Regions from separate parts of the Homo sapiens genome. Here all the other regions are linked to region 2. Evidence: promoter capture Hi-C in human tissues and cell types (Jung and others, 2019). All regions are on one chromosome and are shown on one strand. The core of a region is centred on a gene start or on the middle of the fragment in contact, and the rest is flanking DNA. Distances in the headings are between cores, read along the strand shown.

Region 1 (4,393 bases), core at 673-3,172, 710 kb after region 2:
CCCATTAAAACTACCTTCAGGGTCTCTGCTCTTTATTTCTCTGCTCTCTTGGCTTCCACCTCTGGTTTTGTTGAGGTTCACAGGCTATCACAGTTCCGCAAAGGGCTCAGGTGTGTGTGGACCAGAACTTCCATGGGAGCTGTCAGAGTTAGCTCAGTGTTAATTTTTCTGCCTTCTCTGCCCCTGCCCCAGCCCCATAGCCCATGGAATAATGCTGGTTCAAGGCAGAAGTGCTTGTACAGAGGCTTCTTGCCTTTAGGTGGAGGAGTCACCAGTGCTACCTCTCTAGGACCCACATATGTCTACCTGCTGTCACCCTTGTCCCACTTGCTTTTTCTTAGTGTTGGGCTTAGCTTCTCTCTCATGTCCCTTTCTCATGTTCCTTCTCTTGTGCTTTACATGGCAGGAAGCTGCTGGGTCTGGGCTGATCTGCATGGCTGTACTCAGAGTGGGTGAGAGGCCACGTTGCCTACTGAGTACAAGTAAGGACCCTAGAACCAGGAAAGTCCTGCATTTGTAATGGCTTTGTGACTTGAGAAAGTGACTTAATCACTCTGAGCCTCAGTTTGCTCATTTGTAAAATGGAAACACCAGTAATATATGGACCTCATACAGCTGTTAGGATTAAATGGTAACATGAATGCAAGAGGCTTAGCTCTGTGTCTAGCATACATTGGTAGCCATCATTATTTTTATTTATATTTTTAAATATATATTTTTAAAATAGAGATGGGGTCTTGCTATATTGCCCAGGCTGGTCTCGAACTCCCAGACCTAAGTGATCCTCCTGCCTTGGCCTCCCAAAGTGTTAGGATTACAGGTGTGAGCCACCATGCCCGGCCTGGTGTTGTTAATATTATTTTATTAATACGATGGCTCCCATTTCTCCATCACTACTCTTTGATGAGCTGTTTAGTTCCCAAGGAGGCTGATGTGAGTATTAGATATATTAGACATAACTGATGTAGCCAAAAAAAAAAAAAAAAGAATTGTGAGGTGTGCTTGGGAAGGTGTAACCCTATATGACAGTGGTTAAACCCAGACATTAGAATTATCCATTATTACTCAGGTTGGCTAAGTCTGTGGTATTTGCTTTCCAAGGTGCTATACCCTAGGGAAGAGCTAGGTATGCTCACTGGCATGGTTTTTAATGAGTGAATGGTTTCCTGGGTTCTAAGCCTCGTGGTTGACTGAGGCTGGGCCCTTCTGCTATCCCTGGATATTTGTAGAACCTTACATAAAGCCTCGAAGATGGATGCTGTTGTACAAAACCTAATGTGAAGCATATCATGATATTGTCCCATAACATCTCCAGTCAGTCCTGAATCCTTGTTTCTCCTTTCTTTTTAGGAAGCATTTATTCGAAGCATTTTGTCAAAGCCTTTCAAAGTCCCCATTCCAAATTATCAAGGTAAAATGGAGGTTTTTCTGTTTTTGAAATCAGTCATATGTACGTGTGCCTGAATAAATTAAAAACCTGCTTTTGTAAATACAAGCTTAGCTGGGAATTGAAGGTGCCAGTCCAGCGGTGGCTGTGTTTGGGGTGACCCTCCTGAGGCCTGCATGAAAACTGTGTTAGCCTCAGTAAGGGCTGCCAAGACTAACTGCCCCTCATCTTCTTGGTAGAGGTGTCCCGGTGCTCAGAAAGCTCCTGGTGGGCCAAGATGGCTGATGGACCTGGGCTTCATTCAATCCAAGTGCATTCAGTAGCATCCCTTTTATGAGGCTGACTGTGTGGGAGGCCTGGATTCTATAAGGTTTTTCCCTGTCTTATGTAGGGTACAGCATTATGCTAAAACTGGGGCTTGGAGGAATAGGGAGGCCAGCTTTCTCTCTCTCTCTTTTTTTTTTTTTAATTTAATAGAGATAGGATTTCACTATGTTGGCCAGGCTGATCTCGAACTCCTGGGCTCAAGCGATCCTCCCACCTCGACCTCTCAAAAAGTGTTGGGACTACAGGCTTGAGATACTACGCTTGGCTGTGGCCAGCTCTCAGGAGCTCTCAGAAAGCTCCATGAAAGTGCCCTTTAGAATTTCAGGCCTTCCCAGGATTGTCTTGAGTTGAAATGAACCAGATCTGGCACCTCAGAAGTTTGTAATTGAATGGGAGAAATAAAACGGGAAAAGCTCTGATTCAAAGCAGAAAAATTCTGGGGGCTGGGCATCGTGGCTCACGCCTGTAATACCAGCACTTTGGGAGGCCAAGGCGGGCAGATCACCAGAGGTCAGGAGTTCAAGACCAGCCTGGACAACATGGTGAAACCCTGTCTCTACTAAAAAAAATACAAAAATTAGCTGGGTGTGGTGGTGGGAGCCTATAATCCCAGCTTCTTGGGAGGCTGAGGCAGGAGAATTGCTTGAACCTGGGAGGCAGAGGTTGCAGTGAGCCGAGATTGTGCCACTGCACTCCAGCCTGGGCAACAAAGTGAGACTCCATCTCAAAAAAAAAAAAAAGCTGAATGGGATAATGGTCATATAGAGATGCCCAAACTGAGTTTGGAGGCATTCTCAGAGAGAGAGGGTCATATGGGAGCTCGGGAAAGGTTATGTGAAGGACAAGTATTTGAGCTGGGCTTGCTGGAGCTCCTAAACATAGATTCAGGTGACGGAATGATTATTGGTTTGTAGGTCCTCTGGGCTCTCGAGCATTGGGCCTGAAAAGGGCTGGGGTCCGCCGGGCCCTCCATGACCCCCTGGAAAAAGATGCCTTGGTTCTGTATGAGCCTCCCCCGCTGAGCGCTCATGACCAGCTGAAGCTTGACAAGTATGTGCACTGGTATTTCATAAGCAGTTTTGGTTCTCTGTATATGCACGCATACTTGGGAGGGCAGAGGGTATTTTGGTGTGATTTCTTTTTAGGATTGACATATGTTTTCAGAGAGTAGATGATTGGGGAAGGAGACTGCCTGGGGAAGAGCCTGTGGTCATGTCCAGTGAGTGGGCATTCCTCATCCCCTCCTGCCTTCCCAGGATGCTCACTCAGGAGGAGGAGTGATTGAGGTGATGACACAGGGAACCCATCCCTCTCTGAGCTAACTTTCTAACTCCTAAAGTAGGAACTTGCTATGGTTTTACGATTTATCAGCCAAGAAGGTCTTCTTTTAGGCAGCTGCCTCTGTTGCCTCCGGATCAGCAGGACACAGCTTCCTGAGGGTGCTCCCTTGCCCATGTCTGAGCACGCTGTTTTCTTTGCTGTGTTTTCTCAGGGAGAAACTCCCTGTCCATGTGGTTGTTGACCCTATTCTCAGTAAGGTTTTGCGGCCTCATCAGAGAGAGGTAAATGAGGGTGAGGGGAACGAGGTATGGGCTATGGGCTGAGCCTGGGAGACTACCATCCCTGGGACAGCAGCAGCGTAGGTGCCAAAGTGGACTGAAGGCTGTTATTCTCTAGGGAGTGAAATTCCTGTGGGAGTGTGTCACCAGTCGGCGCATCCCTGGCAGCCATGGCTGCATCATGGCTGATGAGATGGGCCTAGGAAAGACGCTGCAGTGCATCACATTGATGTGGACACTTTTACGCCAGAGTCCAGAGTGCAAGCCAGAAATTGACAAGGCAGTGGTGGTGTCGCCTTCCAGCCTGGTGAAGAACTGGTACAATGAGGTTGGGAAATGGCTCGGAGGGAGGATCCAACCTCTGGCCATCGATGGAGGATCTAAGGATGAAATAGACCAAAAGCTGGGTACGGAGCCCTAACAAAGATGGCTGCACTCTCCTGCACAGCCTGCTGCTTTCTTACGTGTATGCTCATTTATGGCCAGGGTGGAGGGCAATGCAGGGGTAGAAGAAAAGAGAATTTCCATTGAAAATAGTTGAAGTGGAGTCAGTTGTTTCCAGGCTAAATTAAAGAACTGTCTAATTGTTTTTTTTGTTTTTTTTTTTTTCAAAAGATTCTGAATTGTTCCCTTTACACCTTTTCTGTTGTAGAAGGATTCATGAACCAGCGTGGAGCCAGGGTGTCTTCTCCCATCCTCATCATTTCCTATGAGACCTTCCGCCTTCATGTTGGAGTCCTCCAGAAAGGAAGTGTTGGTCTGGTCATATGTGACGAGGTACTTGACTCTCAGCAGTCTGGGTGGTAGGAGAAAATCTGTCAAAATCTCTTCACTGAGTATTGCCTTCCAAGGGCTGTGCTAGTCACTGGGGAATGCTGAAGACAGGATGCTGCCTTGGAGACAAGTGACAGGGAGAGCCTGTGATACCAAAATACAAGATACTGTCTGCCAAAAGAGGGCTGAAACAATGCTTAGAACCCTGAGGAGAGTGAGATACTGGGGGCTGATTGGCTTTGTTGCCTCCGGATAGTATTCCTAGACTAAAGAAGGACCTTGAAGGGTGGGTGGCAATGTTTAGAGGATATAAATCAGAAAGTGTCTGAGACAAGTCTCAATTTAG
Region 2 (3,997 bases), core at 81-2,580:
TTTTTATGAGGATGGCCTGATACATTAGACATTTGGTCCACCAGGACATCACTTATGTTGGGGAGACAGTGGGGGATAACGGGGGTGGGGAAATGGGAAGAGTTGCTCTCAGGGAGTAAAGGTGTGGGGAAAAGCAGAGCCAAACCGAGATAACCCTGTGTCTTGCCCATCCCTGCCAAGGAAAACACATACATGCAAGACACCTCTCCACTCAAACAGCACAGACTATTTCAAATCGCAGATGTGTCATTTAATTAATACCTGTGTGACTTTGGGAAAATTATAAATAGCCTTAACCTTGCTGAGTCTGTCCAATCTGTAAAATGGATTATGAATACTTTCCTCACAGGCTTATGGTGTGCTGGTAATATCTTCCTCTGGATGGCAGTTACATTGCAAAAAATAATTTAAAAAAAAGAACTGTATACATTTAAGATTTATACATTTTCTTTCTTCCTGGATGTAGAATAGGAAAAAAAGAAAAAGAAAAAAAAAAAGACTGGTGTATTTTCTGTATATATGCTATACTACGATTTTTAAAAAGGCTTGTACGAAATAAAAGAATATTCCTTTTCGGCCAGGCGCAGTGGCTCACTCCTGTAATCCCAGCACTTTGGGAGTCCAGGGCGGGTGGATCACGAGGTCAGGAGTTCAAGACCAGCCTGGCCAAGATGGCGAAACCCCGTCTCTACTAAAAAATACAAAAAAATTAGCCAGGCGTGGTATCGGGCGCCTGTAATCCCAGCTACTCGGGAGGCTGAGGCAGAGAATTGCTTGAACCAGGGAGGCGGAGGTTGCAGTGAGCCAAGATCGCGCCACTGCACTCCAGCCTGGGCGAGAGCGAGATTCCGTCTCAAAAAAAAAAAAAAAAAAGGAATATTCCTTTTCCAGGATTATTATGAAGATTCAATAAAACCATGTTTATTAAGTGTTAAGCACAGTGCCTGGCACATAACGTGCTGGGCGGGGTCTATGGTCCAGACAGGGGGACCAGGCACTTTCCAGCGCCTGGATCTGCAGACGCGAGGTCTTCTGTATTCTGGCCAATCTTGGTGTTGCAGCTGCTCTCTGGGCCTCAGTTTGCTTGAACTAAATGTAACGGGGCCAACTTAGGTGAACTTTGGGAATCCAGCCAACCTGACTTTAGGGAGAGTATGGAGCCACGGATGGCATTGTGAATCCGGAGGGCCGACACCAGAAGAACCTGCAACGTGGCATCTGCTACCTTACTTCCCCCGGAAAAGCGCCTGCGGCGGCGCCTAGGCGCGCGGTGCAATGTGGGCCAGCAAAAGGCGAGGCTGGCCCCGCCCCTTGCACCGCCCACGTGGCCAGCGCCACCTGCCTCATTGTGCCCAGGAGTTCTCCAAACCCGCGCTGCGGAGTGAGTGACCAAGTTCCGGCCAGTTCGACCTCGAGGATCCAGAGGTGGAGACGGTACTACCTCCCAGCTCTGTTTTCCATCCCCTTCAGGTCCTTCCTCGGGAGGCGGCGAAGGCGGTCCACCCTGCGCGTGATCCTTTATGCCCGGCCCCTGCCCCTCCCTCCGGGTGGAACTTCCCCCTCACCGCCAGACTTAAGCTGAGGATCGTTGGATCTCTGGCGGGGTGCAGAACTGAGCCCAGGCCACAGTACCCTATTCACGCTCTGTGCTTGTGCCAAGGTGAGTTTCTCTTGCTGCTGGCCTATCTTTCTCCCGGAGGAGATGGCCTCGATTCTTTACTACTGAAATGTAAGCCCCTGGGGTTGAGTGGAGAGCGCAGAGCACTGGAGGGGACGAGACTTGGTTTCGGATTTGAGCTCTTCTTTTTCTCTGTATGATCTCTTGCTAACTTCCCAGTTTCTCTGAACCTGTTTCCTCAGCAATAAAATGAGGTCCTACATTAGAACTGTAGCAAGAATTGAGATAAAGCTTTGAAGGCGCACAGCGCATACTAGGTGATCTGCAAGTTTTAATTGCCATCTTTTTGTTTGCTCACCTATGTGCTTTTTCCAGCTGCTCCGGCTTTCTTATGCAGGTGCAGGGATAGTTCTCAGAAGTGGGGAGAAGTGGGGATAATTCTCTTACTTAGACACCTGCTTTGGGTCTGAGAAAGTCTGACATGTTATTCTGTTGCCCCAGAACTCTGTTAAAGTAAGACACAGATCTGAACCTTCACTGGATGAGGCTACTGTTAATTAACTCTTCCCCTTCAGATCGTTCATACTCAGGGCTGCAGGCCTGTTACTTTTCCAAGATCTGTTTCCTTATCTTTAATACAGGAGCAATCTCAGTATGATTCTATCTGGTCCACTGGGATTTTTTGCCGAGTATAGTAAAGTGCTTTGATATTCTCCAAGAGGATTCTTTTCAGGTTTTCCAACAGGTAAAGGAAGAAGGTGACAGAGGCAGCGACTTCCTCAAATGTCCTTCCAGCTGGCCAAACTCAACCTGTCAAGATCTCTCCCCCATAAGCTGTGTGTGTGTGGTGTGTGTATTGTGTACATTGTATGTATGTATGTATGTATGTATGTATGTATGTATGTATGGGACAGGTACTCTAGGAGTGAGGGGTTCAGGCAGATGACAGGCTCAGACCTCAAGGAGTAGCCAGGTTTGTGGGGGAAATTTATATATAAACAGAAAAATGTAGTGATGTGCACATGCTATCAGTACATGGAAGTAGCCATCCATTTATTTATTTATTTATTTTCTTTTTAGAGATGGATGGGGGTCTCTCGGTCTTTTGCCCATGCTGGAGTGTAGTGGTGGAATCCTTGCTCAGTGCAGCCTCAAACTTCTGGGCTCAAATAATCCTGCCACCTCAGCCTTTGGACTATAAACTACATGCCACTGTGCCCAGTTAATCTTTAAAATAAAAAAAAAAAAATTCCCCCTAGCAAGCAGACTCAGAAAGAAAAAAACAAATTTTTGTAGAGACAGTGTTTCCTTTTGTTGCCCAGGTTTCAAGTGATCCTCCCGCCTCAGCCTGCCCAGGTGCTGAGATTACATGTATGAGCCACTGCACCTGGAAAGGAGCCAGAAATGTGAAGTGCTAGCTGAAGGATGAGCAGCAGCTAGCCAGGCAAAGGTAGGGTTTGGGGAAGGAAAGTGCACACACCTAGAGTCAGGTAAGTGATGTGACCCTGTTGAGTGTTCAAAGTCTGGAATACAGTCTGACATGAGGAGGTGGTGAAATGAGAAAGATAGAAGCCAGGTTTTGAGAAGCCTGGACTTTATCCTGAATATAGGGGAGAATTGCTGGAAGGGTTTGAGACTGGGAGTCACATGGTTGGATCTGGTGATGGACTGCGGGAAGAGGGACCACTCTGGAAGCCAAGATCTGTGGTTTAAGTAAAGAGTGATGGTCAGCTGGGCACAGTGGCTCATGCCTGTAATCCCAGCACTTTGGGAGGCCAAGGTGGGTGGATCACCTGAGGTCAGGAGTTCGAGACCAGCCTGGCCAACATGGTGAAACCCTCTCCGTACTAAAAATACAAAAAGTAGCTGGGTGTGGTGGCACACACCTATAATCCCAGCTACTGGGGAGGCTGAGGCAGGAGAATCACTTGAACCCGGGAAGCAGAGATTGCAGTGAGCCGAGATCATGCCACTGCATTCCAGCCTGGGCAACAGAGTGAGACTCTGTCTCAAAAAAAAATTTAAAAAGGCTGGGCACAGTGGCTTATGCCTATAATACCAGCACTTCGGGAGGCTGAGGCGGGCAGATCACGAGGTCAAGAGATGGAGACCATCCTGGCCAACATGGTGAAACCCCGTCTCTACTAAAAATACAAAAATTAGCTGGGTGTGGTGGCATGCGCCTGTAGTCCCAACTACTGGGGAGGCTGAGGCAGGAGAATCGGTTGAACCTGGAAGGCGAAGGTTGTAGTGAGCCGAGATCACACCACTGTACTCCAGCCTGGCGACAGAGCGAGACTCTGTCTCAAAAAAAAAAGAGTGGTGGTGGTCAGAGATGGGGCAGTGGCAGTGGAGGTAGATATGGATGGACTAGAGAAA
Region 3 (4,439 bases), core at 94-2,593, 630 kb after region 2:
TGAAGCCCTGGGCCGGGAGGCTTTCCTCTAAGATCTGTGGGAACTGCGCAGGGCCCTCCTCAATCTAGGCCTCAGAATTCCCCCTGAGGTTTGGAGTTGAGCTAGACAGCCTTTAAGAGAAGCTCTGGCTGTATTCCCACTGGTACCTCACTTTCCTCTTGTGAGGCAAGGAGGTCTTGTCTACATGAGGGGCGGGCCTGAAGTTGGATTCTGGAGGGGAGCCAAATGGGGCCTCAGGTGGGTGAACCTTCTCAACCTCCTCCCTCTCCAAGGTTGCCAGCAGGTGGAACCTCAGCCTCGCCTCCATTACTATGGTGACTATTGAGCCTGTTCTGCTACCACCCCCGTCTCCACCTATCAGAGGACAGAGGTGTTCTAGGCACCCATAGCCCAGAAAGGAAATAGGAGGCTGGGCCCTCACCTGCCTGTTTTCAATCCTAGCTATGTGGCAGGACCCTGGCAGCAGTGAGGGAAAGTCTTGCCCCTCTGCCCACCCTGAGGATATTTCTAGAACCCCTGATCTCCTTTATATCTGCCCAGGTGTGCAGCCTGGTCCTAGCTATGCATATCCCAGCTCCCATTTTTCTGGCTCTAGAGGATGTTTCCCTCCTTACAGGATGAGGTTTTAGACTCCCTAGCCAATAAAGAGGGAAGTTTCTCGGCTCCCATCCTTCTTACTCAGCTGTGTGGTAGTAAGCTACTTGCCAGCACTGTTTAAGGCCTGCCTGACCTCTCTCTCCCCAGCTGTGTGGTGCAGCCCTGTTGGCAGTGGGCATCTGGGTGTCAATCGATGGGGCATCCTTTCTGAAGATCTTCGGGCCACTGTCGTCCAGTGCCATGCAGTTTGTCAACGTGGGCTACTTCCTCATCGCAGCCGGCGTTGTGGTCTTTGCTCTTGGTTTCCTGGGCTGCTATGGTGCTAAGACTGAGAGCAAGTGTGCCCTCGTGACGGTGTGTGAAACCCAGCTCCACAGGCTGATGACCAAGAGTCCCCTCGCCCTTGACACCAGGCCCTGGGATTCCCAAACCCTGCTTTGGACCCCCCTAGGCTCAGGCTTCTGTCTCACTTTTCCGGGGGGGGGATTAGGGCAAGGAGGGCATGAGGGACTGTCTCTCCCTAAAACCCAGACCCCTGTTCCCCACTCAGTTCTTCTTCATCCTCCTCCTCATCTTCATTGCTGAGGTTGCAGCTGCTGTGGTCGCCTTGGTGTACACCACAATGGTGAGACACTGGGATGGAGGAAGGGAAGAAGATTGGGCAAAACCCTGGGAGTGGGCTGTGGCCTGTGAATGGCCACCTTCTGTACCAGCCCCTAAACACTGGCCTGCCTCACCCAGGCTGAGCACTTCCTGACGTTGCTGGTAGTGCCTGCCATCAAGAAAGATTATGGTTCCCAGGAAGACTTCACTCAAGTGTGGAACACCACCATGAAAGGGGTAAGGTTGGCTGGGGGAGGTTTTAGGGTGGAGAGAAAGAAGCAAGGCCCCACCTCCACCCTCATCTTGTCTCCAGCTCAAGTGCTGTGGCTTCACCAACTATACGGATTTTGAGGACTCACCCTACTTCAAAGAGAACAGTGCCTTTCCCCCATTCTGTTGCAATGACAACGTCACCAACACAGCCAATGAAACCTGCACCAAGCAAAAGGCTCACGACCAAAAAGTAGAGGTGTGGGCTGGCATGAGTGGGTGGGGACTGTTTTCATGGCCTCAGAGTGGCAAACGGGGATGGGAGTAGGGCAGCTGCCAACTATAAATGCTCTTTTCTCTTCCTGAAGGGTTGCTTCAATCAGCTTTTGTATGACATCCGAACTAATGCAGTCACCGTGGGTGGTGTGGCAGCTGGAATTGGGGGCCTCGAGGTAAGCAGATGAGGAGGCTGGGACTGGGACATGGGCATGAGACCAGGGCTGCTCAACCCATCTGAGGCCTCTCTGGAGGAAACAGACTTCTAACTGGGCCTCAGGTAGGGTGTCTGTGGGACAGGCTTCAGGATCCCTATCATGTTCCCTCATCTCTCCCTGTTCCTCCCTCTCCAGCTGGCTGCCATGATTGTGTCCATGTATCTGTACTGCAATCTACAATAAGTCCACTTCTGCCTCTGCCACTACTGCTGCCACATGGGAACTGTGAAGAGGCACCCTGGCAAGCAGCAGTGATTGGGGGAGGGGACAGGATCTAACAATGTCACTTGGGCCAGAATGGACCTGCCCTTTCTGCTCCAGACTTGGGGCTAGATAGGGACCACTCCTTTTAGGCGATGCCTGACTTTCCTTCCATTGGTGGGTGGATGGGTGGGGGGCATTCCAGAGCCTCTAAGGTAGCCAGTTCTGTTGCCCATTCCCCCAGTCTATTAAACCCTTGATATGCCCCCTAGGCCTAGTGGTGATCCCAGTGCTCTACTGGGGGATGAGAGAAAGGCATTTTATAGCCTGGGCATAAGTGAAATCAGCAGAGCCTCTGGGTGGATGTGTAGAAGGCACTTCAAAATGCATAAACCTGTTACAATGTTGCCAGTTGGACTCTTCATGTATCCTTGGGGAGAGGGGCCTAAACTGGCCACGGATTCCTGTGGGGCTGCCAACTCAGAAGGCCCTGGAAAGGAGGGAAGTAGGGTGGGGTTGGGGGTCAGAAGTGGTTATTTCTCCCCTTCATTTGGGTTCCAGGCCTTGGAGGGAAACTAAGAGGGATGGCTGAGAGGGCATGAAGAAGTACAGTTGGGTTAGGCCAGTCTGCCTCCTTATAAAGGGGAGAACTTTGGACTGAAACTACCCCCTCCTGGGTAGGGGCACTGGACTGGAAAGCTATGAAAATAACAAGCTTGTGACGAATTCTTACCAGGGCAATGGGAAAGGGTCACTCCTTAGGTTCTGGGAAGCCCTTCAGGAGCCCCCTTCCTAGGGTCCAGGCTGCCTGCCTTTCCCACTCAGGCAAAACCCCAGATCTGTCCCTGCTTCTGGGATCTCAGCAAGCACTTCATTTTTTCGTTGCTGCTGGCCTACCTGGTGTTCTTCAGACCTCACCTCTTTTTCTTTTCTTTTCTTTTTTTTTTTTTTTTTTTGGGACAGAGTTTCGCTCTTGTTGCCCAGGCTGGAGTGCAATGGTGTGATCTCGGCTCACTGCGGACTCTGCCTCCGGGTTCAAGCAGTTCTCCTGCCTCAGCCTCCTGAGTAGCTGGGATTACAGGCACCTGCCACCATGCCCGGCTAATTTTTGTGTTTTTTTTTTTTTTTTTTTGAGAGAGTCTCGCTGTCGCCCAGGCTGGAGTGCAGTGGCGCGATCTCGGCTCACTGCAGGCTCCGCCCCCTGGGGTTCACGCCATTCTCCTGCCTCAGCCTCCCGAGTAGCTGGCACTACAGGCGCCCGCCACCTCGCCCGGGTAATTTTTTGAATTTTTAGTAGAGACGGGGTTTCACTGTGTTAGCCAGGATGGTCTTGATCTCCTGACCTCGTGATCCACTCACCTCGGCCTCCCAAAGTGCTGGGATTACAGGCATGAGCCACCGTGCCCGGCCACGCCCGGCTAACTTTTTATATTTTTAGTAGAGACAGGGTTTCACCATGTTGGCCAGGCTGGTCTCGAACTCCTGACCTCAGGTGATCCACATGCCTCAGCCTCCCAAAGAGCTGGGATTACAGGCGTGAGCCACCTCACCTGACCTAGACCTCATCTCTTCTTTAGCCCTAACTATCCCTATGCTCCAGGTAGGAAACTAGGGATCGGAAAGGCCAAGATACTTGCCCCAGTCCCACAGGCTTCTGTGAAGAGCTCAGCCTAGATTTGGGCCCAGAACTCCAGCACCTGGTGTAGTCCTGGCTGACATGGTACTAGTTCCACTTGAAGGGGCAGCTGGCCAGAATGTCTGATATAGACCTGATCACTGTTGAGCCAGGAGTGAGAGGCCTGAGGGAGGCTATGGCAAGAGGGTACAGTGTCTGCTACCAAGCAAAGCCCAGCCTAACAAACCAGTCCCCCTCCTTACTTCCCTTTGACCCCTGTAACTCTCTTCCTGAGCTTTTCCAGGGCAGCCCAGAACCACCACCCCCTTGCTGAGCCCAGAAAGGAAGAGGGACCTGGCCAGAACCAAACAGTGCCTTAGAGCTGGTCTGTGAGGGCCAGACCAGGAGCCTGCTAGGGTGCGGGACAGGGGGAGGAGCTAGCCTGCCTCACCCCTTCACCACCATACTGTGCCTCTCACACTTCTCCTCTGCCGTGTGCCTGTGTGGAGGCTGCATGGGATTTGTTTGCCCAGGGCGGGCCTCTACCTCATCATGGGCTAATTGCTGCTCAACCTGGCTGTTGTGCCACCTCAGGCACTATATCCAGCTCCAACAAACACTGAAGGCGTCAGGGTGGCGAGATATGTCCAAGCGACATACCACCCATGCTGTCACCGAGTTGGGCTCCAAGCACCTGTGAAAGAGGCAGGGCAGAGAGC

Evidence for each region. The method cuts DNA at HindIII sites, captures the fragments that hold promoters and counts their contacts. A contact is called where the count stands out against the background at its distance.
Region 1: a fragment that was not itself captured here is called in contact with the fragment with the promoter of AKR1A1 in region 2 in 1 of the 25 tissues and cell types used here (aorta).
Region 3: a fragment that was not itself captured here is called in contact with the fragment with the promoter of AKR1A1 in region 2 in 2 of the 25 tissues and cell types used here (H1 embryonic stem cells and heart left ventricle).

The regions. Positions count from the first base shown.
Region 1 is chr1:46,257,336-46,261,728 of GRCh38, forward strand. It overlaps RAD54L (RAD54 like), which reads left to right. Exons shown (of 18, transcript NM_003579.4): 4 at 1,351-1,411; 5 at 2,629-2,764; 6 at 3,207-3,276; 7 at 3,392-3,680; 8 at 3,926-4,050. Among named protein-coding and RNA genes, the nearest start is that of RAD54L, 12 kb to the left of the region's middle. The HindIII fragment of the contact is 4,363 bases long and covers 1-4,104 here.
Region 2 is chr1:45,549,496-45,553,492 of GRCh38, forward strand. AKR1A1 (aldo-keto reductase family 1 member A1) reads left to right here and starts at 1,331. Exons shown (of 9, transcript NM_153326.3): 1 at 1,331-1,660. RefSeq lists enhancers at 1,014-1,073, 1,124-1,353, 1,584-1,803. The HindIII fragment of the contact is 19,939 bases long and covers 1-3,997 here.
Region 3 is chr1:46,183,447-46,187,885 of GRCh38, forward strand. TSPAN1 (tetraspanin 1) reads left to right here. Exons shown (of 9, transcript NM_005727.4): 4 at 745-951; 5 at 1,148-1,222; 6 at 1,339-1,437; 7 at 1,514-1,669; 8 at 1,779-1,862; 9 at 2,040-2,516. The coding sequence ends at 2,087. Among named protein-coding and RNA genes, the nearest start is that of P3R3URF-PIK3R3, 9.2 kb to the left of the region's middle. RefSeq lists an enhancer at 1,151-1,200. The HindIII fragment of the contact is 7,189 bases long and covers 1-4,439 here.